Regions from separate parts of the Homo sapiens genome. Here regions 2, 3 and 4 are each linked to region 1. The links are contacts of gene promoters, found by promoter capture Hi-C in human tissues and cell types (Jung and others, 2019). All regions are on one chromosome and are shown on one strand. Each heading gives the region's core, a stretch centred on a gene start or on the middle of the fragment in contact. The rest is flanking DNA. Distances are from core to core; before and after follow the strand shown. Region 1 holds the start of BICD2 (BICD cargo adaptor 2). Region 2 overlaps IARS1 (isoleucyl-tRNA synthetase 1). Region 3 overlaps NOL8 (nucleolar protein 8). Region 4 holds the start of OMD (osteomodulin).

The links. The method cuts DNA at HindIII sites, captures the fragments that hold promoters and counts their contacts. A contact is called where the count stands out against the background at its distance.
Region 2: a contact is called between a fragment that was not itself captured here and the fragment with the promoter of BICD2 in region 1, in 2 of the 25 tissues and cell types used here (dorsolateral prefrontal cortex and lymphoblastoid cells).
Region 3: a fragment that was not itself captured here is called in contact with the fragment with the promoter of BICD2 in region 1 in 1 of the 25 tissues and cell types used here (mesenchymal stem cells).
Region 4: a contact is called between the fragment with the promoter of OMD here and the fragment with the promoter of BICD2 in region 1, in 1 of the 25 tissues and cell types used here (lymphoblastoid cells).

The regions. Positions count from the first base shown.
Region 1 is chr9:92,762,947-92,766,451 of GRCh38, forward strand. It overlaps BICD2 (BICD cargo adaptor 2), which reads right to left and starts at 1,887. Exons shown (of 7, transcript NM_001003800.2): 1 at 1,559-1,887. The coding sequence starts at 1,798. RefSeq lists an enhancer at 1-14 and silencers at 1,838-2,577, 3,430-3,479. The HindIII fragment of the contact is 19,809 bases long and covers 1-3,505 here.
Region 2 is chr9:92,279,975-92,283,479 of GRCh38, forward strand. It overlaps IARS1 (isoleucyl-tRNA synthetase 1), which reads right to left. Exons shown (of 34, transcript NM_002161.6): 7 at 772-919. Among named protein-coding and RNA genes, the nearest start is that of MIR3651, 11 kb to the right of the region's middle. The HindIII fragment of the contact is 9,461 bases long and covers 1-3,505 here.
Region 3 is chr9:92,304,440-92,307,944 of GRCh38, forward strand. NOL8 (nucleolar protein 8) reads right to left here. Exons shown (of 17, transcript NM_017948.6): 11 at 2,447-2,585; 12 at 1,314-1,391. Among named protein-coding and RNA genes, the nearest start is that of IARS1, 12 kb to the left of the region's middle. The HindIII fragment of the contact is 6,239 bases long and covers 1-3,505 here.
Region 4 is chr9:92,422,825-92,426,329 of GRCh38, forward strand. It overlaps OMD (osteomodulin), which reads right to left and starts at 1,647. Exons shown (of 3, transcript NM_005014.3): 1 at 1,378-1,647. All of the region lies in intron 5 of CENPP (centromere protein P), which reads left to right. The HindIII fragment of the contact is 14,159 bases long and covers 1-3,505 here.

The sequences.
Region 1 (3,505 bases), core at 637-3,136:
ATATTCTCAGAGCCCCCTGCCTCCCTATCACACGCCCCACCCTAAGATGGGGACTCTTGCAAGAGCAGCTGCATCTCACCCCTCTTGTAGCTCCAGCGCCACTGGAGCATGCATTGCAGAAGGTGCCAATACCTGCTGACAGACAACAGAATCGAGTCCTGAGGGCGATGGGGGAGGACCCAGCTCCTGCTGGCCCAGGGTCAGCCATTGACTGGTACTAACTGAGCACCTGCTCTGCCCAGACATCCAAGCATCTGCTTGGATTCATTCTCTGCTCTCCACAGACGGGTCTCCTCAGACACGGGGGAGGCAAGGAAGGCTGCAAATGATTTAGGCACCTGTCTGGGCTGACTGGGAGCAGAGGTGCCAGGTGATAAGCCTGGAAACCAAGAGCCAAGGGCTCACCAGGACACACTCAAGTGGGGGAAGGGAGCACACCACCAAGCTATACTCCTGACCGCACACCAGTCCTTTCCAAATACATGACCCTCACAACAATCCTTTCTGGGCACGCAGTACTGCACTCCCATTTTGCAGAGGGGGAAACTAAGACTCACGGAGGGCCTCTACCCAAAGCCACATCACTAGCAAGGGGCACAGCCTGGATCCAAACCCTGGTGTATCCTCCCAGAAAGCAATTCCTGCAAACAACGCTATGGAGTCAGGGAACGGGAGAAGAGAAGCTGGGGAAGGACTGTCCAAGACTCCCGCTGCCCTGCCGCCTGGAGACCCTCGACCAGCCTGGTGGTCTAACCTACTCTCCCCCCAGTGGGAATGACACAGACCACTGAGGTCTCCGTCCAAGAGGAACACAGCAAGCCACAGCGAGGGGAAGGGCCCGAGAAGCGGGGCTGGACAGGAAGTGGGCCAGGGAAGTCATGCTAGCTGGTGGGAGCGCAATCCCGGCCATGAGGACACAGCGCTGGGCCTGGGGCAAGGGTACTGGGGGACCCATGCCAGGGGCAACCTCCACGTGCAACCCCGAGCCCCTACTCACTTAGGCCGCTGTCCACGACCTTTCCCCACCTCGGAGGCACTCATGAAAGAAGCAGAAACGCTCCGAAAGTAGCTGCGCCCAGAGAGGGGAAGTGCTTTCTCTGAAGGTGACAGAGCCGCAGCCACCCAGACCCAGGCCCACCCTCGGCCTCTCCCAGCGGGTCACCAGCATCCGTGGCCTCAGCTCCCGGCTCAGCCACTGCCCTCCCAACCCCACCCCACACTCAGACACACCCGGAACAGCGACCACCGCAAAGCATCAGCCCTTACGAAGCCCCGCCCCGCCGGGGCCGCCCAGGTCCGCACAGAAGCAGGCGGGCAGCTGCAGGAGGCGACAAGGCGCCCGGACCCCTGCATTAGCGGCGTCTGCAACGGCCGCGGCACCGGCCTGCTAGCCAAGGCCGGGCCCACTCCCACATACTGCCCGTGCCCCCTCCGCCCCGGCGGCCCACCCCTGCCGGCCCCCGCTTGGCAAGCTGACCTTGGCCGCCCTGGTGCCAGGGACGACGCCCACAGGCCCCGGCGCCGGGCGGGGGTCGCAGGGCAGGGCGGCTCGGCTCACCTCCTTGAGCTGCTCCATCTCGCTGCGGATAGCCTCATAGTCCACCTCGAGCTCCTCGAACTGCAGCTTGAGCTGGTGCTTCTCCTCGAGCACCGCCAGCCCGTACTCGGCCGCCTGGATCTTCTCACGCGTGGTCTCGGCCAGCTCGTGGGACAGCCGCTTCACCTCGGCGCGCAGCCACTCCGGCTGCGCCTCCATCACCAGCCGCGCGTACTCCTCCTCCTCCGACGGCGCCGACATGGTGGCCGAGGGCTGAGCCGGCTCCCACTGAGGCTCTCGCAGGCCGGGCCCTCCTCAGCCGCCGCCGCTGCCGCCGCCGCCGCCGCCCTGCCCCGACGGCCGCCCGCCCGCCCGCGCCGCCGCACGGCTCCTCCCCTCCGGCGCGCGGGGCCCGCTGGGGGCTGGAGTCCTGCCTGCGCTCCGACCACAAGGTCCATCATGCCCGGCGCCCGCCCGGCCCCCGGCTATGATTGGCCCATGCTCTGTGAGGGGCGGGCCCTCGGGCGCAGCCACTGACGCCAATGTGGCCCAGGGGGCTGTGGGGACAGTAGTCCCGCTAGCGCACCGACTACAAAACCCGTCCAGCCCCGCGCCCACCCGTCCCCGTCCGTGATTGGCCTGCGCCGCCAGCGTCGAGCCGGATGTACCGGCGCCTTGCAGTCCCCTGGACGGCGGTCGAGTGGGCGCGGCCCCGCGGCCTTCCCCACACTCAGAGCCGGGGACACTGCTCGGTCGCCGGGCCTCGCGCTCCCCTGTGCCTCTGGCAGCCGGCGGCCACGCGGGGTGGCAAGACGGCTGCCGGGAGAACCCCCAGGGGGAGGCGGGTGCGGGGCGGCAGGACTGGGCTCCCGACCGTGGGACGAACAACGCGGACAGAGCCCGGGAGGCCACGAGCTAGAAGCGCATCCGAGAGCGCGGGTGAACGGCTGCTGCTGGAAACCCGTGGACGGTGTGACGCATGCTCTGTGCAGACGTCTGGGGGCGGGAGGAGGACGGGCCAGCAGGGGGCGCCCAGGGGCCAGCGGGAACCTCAGCACCGCCCCTCAGTCCTTCAAGGTCTATTTCTTGGGAATAAAGACATTTCCATTAATACAGGGTCATAAACGTGGTAAATATAATTGTTGTCTCCGCATCTATTTTTAGGCCTGACTTAAGTTGTTTGAAAGCCAGTCGTACCCTTCGCCTTGGCGTAGGTAACACTTCTCCGTATATGGTGGTGTGTGAGATAACTCGTTTATTCTTTATCTCATTGACCTAAAGCGCAACACACCCCACAGCCGCTGACCGCCATAGCACCTAATGGCCAGTATCAGTGCAGATGAGTTCACCCTTCCCTCGTATTTTCTTTAGCCAGTCCACAGGCCCCAAGGGAAATCCTAAAGGATGATTTCCATGGACCCTAGCACAGCCATAGTCCCTTCCTTCCCACCGTCTCTCACTGCCCCTCTCCATCTGCTTGTCCGCCTCTCTTAGGCATCCCTAACCTCTCCGGAACCTAAGAATAATAAATTCCTTCTGTTTTGTACCTTTTAATTTTACTTTCTCATTGTATCTCACCTGAACCCCACACCCATTCGGTTCTCCTAGAGAGTGGCTATCTTGGCTTATGGTCACTCTCCCTCAAGACCAAATTAGAAAGAAGCCATGACAGCAGAAATCACAGCACACAGGGTACTGACACTATCTAATGCACAGTCCACACTCTAATTGCACGAGGGCCCAACACCATACTGGAGAGTTTCAGTATTGTTTTTGTGGTCCAGGATCCAGTTGCATTCAGTCGTCAGGTTTCCTGAGTCTCCTTTGATTGACCTTTCTGAGGAGTGCAGTGCACACTGGTATATGCTCATGGGGTGATGAGGTGATGCGTTTCTGGCAGGACTGTCACTGAGGTGTTGCTGAGTTTTCAGAGCACCAGCCGGGAGGTATGTGATGTCGATTTGCATT
Region 2 (3,505 bases), core at 380-2,879, 480 kb before region 1:
TTTCTTTTTTAGGCTGAATAATATTCCACTGTACGTAAATACCCTATTTGGTTTATTCATTTATCCAATGATAGACACTTGGGTTGCTTCTATCTTTTGACTACTGTGAATAATGCTCCTATGAACACGGGTGTACAAGTAACTGTTCAAGACTGCTTTCAATTCTTTGGGGAAAACACTCAGAAGTGAAATTGCTGGGCCATAGTGTCATCTCATTCAGCTTTTTGAAGAAATGTCACTGCCTTCCACAGCAGCTGTGCCATAGCTTTTTTCATGGCAATGAGTTTTTCTCTTTTTCTTTTACCGCCACAAAACTACCAAACCTGAAGGTATATTTGTTCACAAAGTACCAATCTTCTTTTTAAATCTCGGAAAGGCCCTCGTTGAGACTGGTAACTCTCTACCAGGGGACATTTGAAAGGCAAAAAGTTCTCAAGTTCTGGTATCAATTGCTAGTAACGACGTGATGCCACATCGCTGAATCTTAGATTCTTCATCTGTCACAGGGGCATGGTGTGGAAAAATGTACTATAAACTGGAAATTATAAGAAAATTTTATGTTCTACTTTTTATATCTCTGTACTATTTTAATTGTTTTGTTAGTTTTCAATTAGAAATGAAAACAAATGTTTAAAGTTATTTTTCTAATTAAGTCAGATTGTTTTCAAATAATTCTATTCTTCATGCAAAAAGAAAGGTAAGCTTTCATATTTTCCAAAATATAAAATTATCTTATCCATATTAATCATAAGTAACCAGCCTCCCACTTACCTTTAATTTTCACATATTGCATTTCTGGATTAACACACACAGCAAGGTTACTAGGTAGAGTCCAGGGAGTGGTTGTCCAAGCAACTAAAGATACAGTTTCATCTTCTTCCAAAGGGAAAGTTACAAATACTGAAGGATCTTGAACATCCTGAAATAAATTGAGGTAAAGTATTGTTTTAGAAATCCACAATAACAGACACCTAAGAAAAAGGAACTACTCCTAAAGAGGAATAAAATAAATCTTCAGGGTAAACCGAAGAAACCACTTACCAGACTTACAAACAGAAAATAGCAAGAAATTCCAAGTAAAAAAATTTTTAAATACTTTAAAAAATGTTTTAATCATCACCTTAGTAGTCTCAAAAATAATGTCTTTTGACACCTGGTGACTTTTTTTTTTTTTTTTTTAGATGGAGTCTCACTGTGTCACTAGGCTGGAGTGCTGTGGTACAATCTTGGCTCACTGCAGCCCCTGCCTCCTGGGTTCAAGTGATTCTTGTGCCTCAGCCTCCCGAGTAGCTGGGATTATAGGTGCGTGTCACCACACGTGGCTAATTTTTGTATTTTTAGTAGAGATGGGGTTATTCCATGTTGGTTAGGCTGGTCTCAAACTCCTGACCGCAGGTGATCCTCCCACCTCAGCCTCCCAAAGTGCTGGGATTACAGGCGTGAGTCACCATGCCTGGCCTCTGGTAACTTTTTAAAGTAATGTCTAAGTAGGAACATATGATGGAGGTTTCAGTATTATGATTATCTATTTTGTAAGTCCATCAAGAGTTAGATCAAAAAGATAACTGTTCTGGAATATGGTTATCTTTTTGCCCAAAATACCAAAAAGATCCTACTGAAGCAACACATACTTGAAATTGTAACAGACCCATATAAATTCAGCTCATTAAATAAGAACAAGATTGTCTCCAACTTTACGGAAATGTTTCAACACAAAAATATCAAGGATTTAAAAATAAATAGCTCTAAGGTAGGAAAAAAAAAATCAATCCCCAACAAAAACCAACTGCAATTTAAATAAAGTGACACGAGAGCCATTAGTCACATGTAAAACATCAGACAAACTTGAAATAAGAGACACTACTATTGGCCTGTACCTCCTCAAATATGTCAGTATTATGAGGCATAAAGAGACTAAAGAGCTCTTTAAGATTAAAGAAGGCTGGAGACATACCACTGCATGAAGCACACAATGTAGGTCTTTTTTGTTTTTCTTTCCTTCTTTTTTTCTTGTTAACTATAAAGGACACTGCTGGGACAAGCAGAACCCAATAAGATCTACACATGAGGTAATACAGCATCAATGTTAATTTTCTAACTCCAGTTATTTCAAACAATGTTACTGATTTTAGGAAATATATAGTTTTTAGAGGAAAAGGGCCATAATTCCTGCAACTTACTCTCAAAGGGTACTGTGCCCCACTCCCATAAAAAGAGAGAAGGATAAAGCAAATGTGGTAAAAGGTTAACATTTAGGGAATCTAGTTGAAGGATATAAAGAACTCTCCGCTTTTCTGTGAGTTTGAAACTACATCAAAATTAATTTTTTTCTTTTCTTTTTTTTTTGAGATGGAATCTCACTCTGTCACCCAAGCTGGAGTGCAGTGACGTGATCTCAGCTCACTGCAACCCCCACCTCCCAGGTTCAAGCATTCTCCTGCCTCGGTTTCCTGAATAGCTGGGACTACAGGTGTGCACCACCATGCCCAGCTAATTTTTGTAAAAAATTAAAATTTTTTAGCACGGTGGCTCATGCCTATAATCCTGGCACTTTGGGAGGCCAAGGCAGGAGGATCGCACAAGCTCTGGAGTTTGAGACCAGCTGGGGCAATATGGTGAGATCCCATCTCTACAAAGATAAAAAAATTTTCTGGGCATGGTGATGCACATCTGTGGTCTCAGCTGCTCAGGAGGGTGAGGCTGGAGGATCACTTGAACCCAGGAGGTCAAGGCTGCAGTGAGCTGTGTTTGCACCATTGCATTCCAGCCTAGGTGACAGACTGAAATCCCTTCTCTAAAAATAAATAAATAAAAGTTTTAAGCCAATACATATATATGTATACTTACATATATACATACACACACATATATATATATATATATATATTTTTTTTTTTTGAGACAGAGTCTAACTCTGTCACCCAGGCTGGAGTGCAGTAGCACACTTTCGGCTCACTGCAACCTCAACTTCCTGGGCTCATGTCATTCTCTTACTTCAGCCTGTGGAGTAGTTGGAACTAAAGGTTCACGCCACCACGCCCAGCTAATTTTTGTAATTTTAGTAGAGATGGGGTTTTGTCATGTTGCCCAGGTCGGCCTCCAAAAGTGCGAGGATTTCAGGTGTGAGCCACTGTGCTTGGTCAAGTCAAAAAAATTTTAAAAACCCTTGGTTAACAATCAATATACAGACCGCGTAGAATAGAGGTCAGCAAACCATGGCCCCTGGGCCAAATCTGGCTCATCACTTGTTTCATACAGTGGGTGAGTTAAGAATGGTGACAAAATTGAGAACACTTTGCCTGAAAAGCCTAAAATATTTAATTTGCAGAGGAAAGTTTCCCAACCTCAGTATTAGAACTAAAAATTAAGTATACTCTGTGACTCACCTGGGCGTGGTGGCTCACGCCTGTAAAAATACCCGCACTTTGGGAGGCTGAGGCAGGTGGATCAACTGAGGTAAGGAGTTCAAGACCAGCCTGGCCAACATGGCGAAACCCTGTCTCTA
Region 3 (3,505 bases), core at 268-2,767, 460 kb before region 1:
TAACAGAGAAGCCTCATCTGTACTTAGATCTGATCTGAATGATGACATCCTGGATTTTGAGCTGATGTAAAGGGATGAGACTTCTTAGGGGTATAGGGAGGGGGTAAACATATCCTATTTGTTCAATACGGATTATCTGAAATAACACACATATATCCTACATTGGAGGGAATATTAATATTCTACTTTAGTCTAAAATGTGATTCTTTTTAAAAGAATAATTTTGGAACAATTTTAGGTTTACAGAAAGTAACGAAAATAGTAGAGTTCCTAAATAGCCTTCACTTTGTTTTCCCTAATGTAATTATGTGTGTATGTAACTAGGATATAATTGTCAAAATTAGAAGATTAACATTGGTAGATTACCACTAACTAAACTCAGACATTGTTTTGATTTCACTAGTTTCTCCACAAATTGTCCTGTTGTTTCAAGATTCAATTCAGGATACCACACTGCCTTTTGTGATTTTCGTGGCTATTAGCAGTTGGAAAATGAAGGATTTAAACCAAGCTGCTACTGGTTGCTCCATATATTTGCCATGTTTATCCAACTGACTGCACATCTATAGGAAACAGAAGCTCCTACCACACTAGATGGTTGAATGGTTGCCCCCCAAAAGCTATGTCCATGTCCTAATTCCTGAAACCTGTGAATGTTAACATTATTTAGATAAGGGGTCTTGCAGAGATATTAAGTTAAGGGTCCTAGGATGAGGAGCCCATCCAGGATTATCCAAGTGGGCCCTGAATGCTATCACAAGTGTCCTTATAAGAGGCACAAAGAGGAGAGACAGAAAAGAAGAGGCCATGTGAAGATAGAGGCAGAAATGGGAGTAATGTAGTCTCAAGCCAAGGAACACCAAAGGATTGGTGGCAGTCACTAGAAACTAGGAGAGGCATAAAACAGCTTTGTTTCCCTGAACCTCTAGAAGGAACATAACCTGTTCACTATCTTAATTTGGGACTTCTAGGTTCCAGAACTGTAAAGAAATAATTTTTGTGATTTTAAGTAACTAAGTTTGTGGTAGCTACAGAAGACACAAGAAACTAGTACAAATAAAAGGCATCATTTATACAAATAAAAGGTATAAATGATAGGAGTACATATCATTTATAGATTCCTCTGTTAAAAGGTAAGACCTCCTCCACCACATCAATAATTCCTTTCTAACTCTACCTGCACTACCCCTACCCCACCAATCTTAATACAGTGGGACCAATGAGTAGGATATTGGTTCCTACCTACATTTTTAATTGTCTGAAATGAGATTAATTTACATGATCCTATTGCTAAAAGAAGTAGCTCTACTTACCTTTCTTTTGGCTTATCATCTCTTTTTCTTTCGTAAGTGGCATGGTCTTGCTTCGTTGGATCATAATGTATGATGTCCCTATGTAAAAAAAGGAAGGGAGGTTGGAAGAGATAAAAACAGAACACTAATACAAAAAGTAAGTAGCAAATTATAATTCAGCACTAGGAAGATTCTAATTTTGCAGCAAGAAGAAGCCATATAACATCAGATAAGATAACTAGGATCTTACTAGAAATAACATATACATAGATTTTTCTTGGAGACAGAGTCTCGCTGTGTTGCCCAGGCTGGAGTGCAATGGCGTGATCTTGGCTCACTGCAACCTCCGCCTCCCAAGTTCAAGCGATTCTCCTGCCTCAGCCTCCCAAGTAGCTGGGATTACAGGCATGTGCCACCATGCCCGGCTAATTTTTATATTTTTAGTAGAGACGGGGTTTCACCATGTTGGCCAGGCTGCTCTCCAACTCCTGATCTCAGGTGATCCGCCCACCTTAGCCTCCCAAAGTGCTAGGATCACAGGTGTGAGCCACCATGCCCAGCCGAAAAAATATTTTAAACTACCTACTTTTGAGATTTCCTGGATTTTTTTAGCTTTTAAAATGATTTTAAACATACTAAAATACATACAGATAAAATGATATACTATCTGGGATTTGCATAAAACATTTCATTGTGTAAAGTAGGGGTTGGATAAAGGTATAGAAGAGAACACTGGTCACATGTTGGTGACTGTAAAAGCTAGGTGATGGTGTACAGGGCTTTCATTACCTGGTGTACAGGTAATGATGGTATACAGGGCTTTCATTAGTCTCTCTAAATTTCATGCCTGAAAATTTCCATAACAGTTACGTTTATATAAATACTTTTACAGTTACTATTTAAACTGTTTCCCATTTGTTTCACTAATGAAAGCGATGCTGCTATGACATCTAAGTGTATAAATACAGAAATAATTTAAGATTAGTTCCTTGAAGTGAATCACTGGGTCAAAGGCAAGTATATTTTTAAGGGTCTGATACATATTGCCAGCTGCCTCCCCAGGCCATTAAAAGAGACCTAGTTTTAAATTGAGTTCAAGAAGACATTTATGGCAAAGGATGATATGGTAGAATGGGATGGAACATAAAACATACTTAAATTTCTTAGCAGCTACTGATCCTCTGTTTGTAGAATTGCTTAAGTTGATTTGCAAAACACTTTGTACAACATTCAGGGCTTTCTTTTTTTCTTCAGCAAGCTCTTCTTCCTCAGCAGTTTTCTTTTCATTTACCTCTTTGAGGAAAAGGGATAATTAATACTCTCTTGGAAAACACAGCCTGAGAAGTCTCAATCATCAAATATTTACCAAGTACCTAAACATGTTCAAAATCCATTAAGACAGGAAGAAGAAACTTTAACCTCATTTCACTAACCTCCATAACCAAAGACCCTCAGTCATAGCAAACTCAGAAAGTCTGCGTGACCAGACAATGAAAAGTCCTACTTCTGTTCCTAATTATGAAAGTCTGAATTTAATGGCTTTCAGTAGCAAGTCTAAAACTTTTAAGGTAAAGATCGACAAATGTAATAGAGCAAGATACTAATAACTACAGTGATTATAGACTCTTTGATTTTTTTAACATTCTAAACATAATCTAAATTACGTAAATCTAAAAATGATAAAGAGTGAAAAATGGTAATGGTATATCTGACAATATAAGATATTAGTGGATAGTTGTTTCAGTCTTTGATTCAATAACAAGTATTATGGGAAAAAAACCATATGCCCTACACATACTAAGGCATCATGGACTTTTACAAGCTACTATCCTCAACTACTACAAACAGACAAAATATCACAGAATAAAGTTAAACAGCTAGTTTGGATTACAGAAATACAAAAGTAGTCTAAGCCTGTATGACTCTTTCAACTTACTGCAGGATATAAATAACCAACTAACAGAAACTAGAATAAAATGCTAATTTAAGTACTCTACAGGGATGCCCCCAAAGTTTCTAAGGGTTCAAAGGAAGTTGAGATAGTGTTTAACTGAATCAAAAGATGCTTTATAAACTAGGTAAAGTTATGAGGTAGGAAAGATAGAGTTGAATCCCTAGAGGTGGTAGGAAAGCATGCTAGGTGTTGGAAACAAAACGAACACATATATTGAAATAATAAAGTACAAAAAGTTTACACTGCATTAGGTTGAAAC
Region 4 (3,505 bases), core at 397-2,896, 340 kb before region 1:
TAATCTCTTCTGAGTCATTTGCTAAGCATATTTTTGTTACTTCTGCTTTTCATACTCTACAATGTATGCCTTGTTCTCTATAGGATAACTCACAGCAATATTGTATAATTCATTGTTGATCATCTCATTTCCTAATATCTTTTAACAGAATCTAATACAATGCAGTGTTATAAGTGCTCAAAGGTGTGTTGAATGAATAAGTTAATAAGTTATAGGTTAAGGCTTGCTAGCAAATGCTTCTCTCTACTAATGTTGATTATTCCTAGGCATTTATTTCACTATGATAATTTCTTCAAATGAACATATTCATGAGAGCTTGACTGTTCCTTTTTCTATTGAATATTTCTTCATCACAATATACTGTATTCCTCACTTTCCTAGTACATCGTGTAGCAGGAAAAGAACAAATGTGAAAAAGAATGTTTGGAGCAAAGTAATATATATATATTACCAGTTTTCAATGTGAATTTTTCATATTATAGCAATAAAACCATCTGTGTCATAATATTTCTCTTACTTGGAGAAAAGCACTCGTGTTCATCAAGAAAAGTTTCAATTGAAATTACTAATGAGGTATAATTTACTTGTTCAGGAAAAGTTTAAAGTAAAATCCTCAACATTTTATTATGTTAAAGACATAATTGTTTTTATTTGTATGACATAGAAACTAGCATATAAGAAAGCAAATATTAGCATATAATTTAGATTTTTCCAAAAAAGTTCTAAATTTTAATTTTATAAAATTTTTTTGCTATTAAAAATACAATTACCTCAATTATTTTTAGCCATAATACATTTAAATCGTAATTAACTAAAACCCAAAGTAACTAGATCCTTCAATAGACTAGATAGAGCATCTGTATTTTCCCTTTGAGAAAGAAGTAAATGAAAAGAAAAACATTCTATATCAGGGATTTAGTCAGTAGAGAAATTTGGAGAAAATCTTGAGTGAAATTTGTACAAATGCCCATCAACCCCCCAACCGGAATCACTAGCATTGCTCAGCTGTATGCCTCAAAGGCATTAGCTGGTTCTTTGTTACTTATAATTCATAGAAAAAAAGAGACCTAAGGAAGAGAAAGAGATTGATTCCTTTAACCTGAGAATCTTTCCTTTCATTCAAAGTAAAAAAAAATCTAAACAAAGATTTTTTATTGGGTAAATCTTAAATGAGAAAGTTAAACTCATTATACTACTTTATTTGAACATTTTGCCTAATCAAAAGTTTAACATAACTTTTTTACCAGATTTTGCTTCCAAAAATTGTGCTTTTGTAATAGATGCAGTCTATTTTAATATTAAAAAATCCAATATACTTTTAAATTTTAACAGTAGGAATACATTCTTAAAAAATTGAAAATTATTTTATTATCATACCTGTTCAATTTGCTTTAGTTTTCAGGGGTTGATGAATTTGTAAATCCTTTAAATGAATCAGAAATTCCTAAATTCTTTAACTGAGTCTCTTAAAAATCCACAGTAACTCTGTGTCCAGACAGGGCTGTCTCTTGAATTACTGTAGCAATTTAAGCAAATACAATCTTCTTGGAAAACACTCGGGTTGAATTAAAATTATGTATTTCTTTTCATTACATGAAACTTTGTGGATTCAAATTAAGATGCTTGTGTTCTTGGTCAGATTTATGTGGCTTACTTCTTTCTTTTCCCCTTAATTTTGGTTTGAGGTGTGGCAAGAATTTCCTCTAATGTGAAAGGCAAACAAAACTAAATGAAACAGCATGTACTGATTACTGTTTTTATTTTCATTTTCATGCCAAAGAATTCTTCAAATTAAGGCCCACTGTGACAGGGAACTCCAGAGTCTCAGCAACTTAAGGTGGAACTCAAAATTTCTTTTTTAATTTTTTGAGATGGAGTCTTGCTTTGCTGCCCAGGCCAGAGTATAGTGGTGCAACCTCGGCTCACCACAACCTCCACCTCCCGGGTTCAAGCAATTCTCCTGTCTCAGCCTCCCAAGTAGCTGGGATTACAGGCATGAGCCACCATGCCTGGCTAATTTCTTGTATTTTTAGTAGAGATGGGGTTTCACCATGTTGGCCAGGCTGGTCTTGAACTCCTGACCTCAGGTGATCCTCCCGCCTCCACCTCCCAAATTGCTGGGATTACAGGCATGAGCCACCACGCCTGGCCTGGAACTCAAAATTTCTTGAGTCCCTTGGTTATTCAACACCTAGGTTCATATCAGTACTTCTATTTGTTAAAACAAGAAATCAGGATTAGAAACATAACATTTCGCATTGTTTATTTTTAAAATGCACTTGATTGTCATTGCTTACACAGATTAACTATACGACTTTTCTATACAAAGGCTTACATCTTCATTTTTATCATCATTTTTATCAGCTATCTCATTTCTCCTCTTTTTGGCAGATGTACCCACTAGAATGACTTCTAATATCCTTTCAGATAAAATTAGTCAGTTGGTTGCACTCCAAAGGTGTATCTTCAATTTGCCTGTTTTTACTATTGCACAAAATAATTCTGTAGTATTGAATAAAATGGGATGAAAAGCTTATGTTACTCAATAGCTATTGCCTTTATTTTGTAGATTTAGAAAATTTCTTCATTTCATAGAGCTATCTCTCCTGAATAGTAACAGTTAACTGTTTTTAATGTTTAATTTTTACACTGTTCTCATATTCTAAACAGAGAGTTGACTTGTGTCTTTTGGCAGTAGATTCGGAGTTCATTTTGGGGGGGAATTCTTTTAAGCTTTTACAAACTAATAAGATAAAGTGAATCCTGGAGTTCATTTTGTTTCCTCAAAAAAGTGTTTTCCATTAGCTTTTTACAAAGAACTCACAAGATTTATTTTGTTAAACTTTGCATTAAGAAAAGTATACAGTGTTTCAAGTGATGCTTTGGCAGTTGTAAAAATCTAGTCTATTATTTGAGACATTGGTATGAAAAACGTGGCAGACCACACTTTAGCCAAGATTCCATCTTGTTACTGATCTTTTCCATATGTTTTCTGTTAGTGTCTTTGTTCTTAAAACTCAGGCTTTCACTAAGGAAGAGAGAGCAAATCTGTGTACTTTTTCAAAAAATTGTTTTATAGGCCTTCACAGTCCTTTTGGAAGATTAACTGAAAATCAACAGCCTAATGTTTATATAACTTCTCATTAACTCTGTGATTTGGATTTATGATATTGATTATGTTATTCATGTTTTTAACAAGTGTGAAAGAAAAATCAGTAGATAACTAGAGCAGACAGAATAAAAATGTCTAGAAAATTTAAACTGATTGGCAGTGTCTATCTAGGAGGTTTAAGGTGGCAAGGGATGGGGATGGGGGGAGGTGGTGGTAGTTAGAGTCAGGCCTTAAAGGAAAAAATAGGGGATGTGAGTTTGTAATAGTTCACTGTTTTAGTTAAGTGGTTATAATTGTAGCAATTGGGGAGAAAAGGAGTTGAATTGTTGAAAAGTGTAAATTATATGCTATGATTATACTTTGATTGAAATAGATTCAGTATCTCAAAGCTGA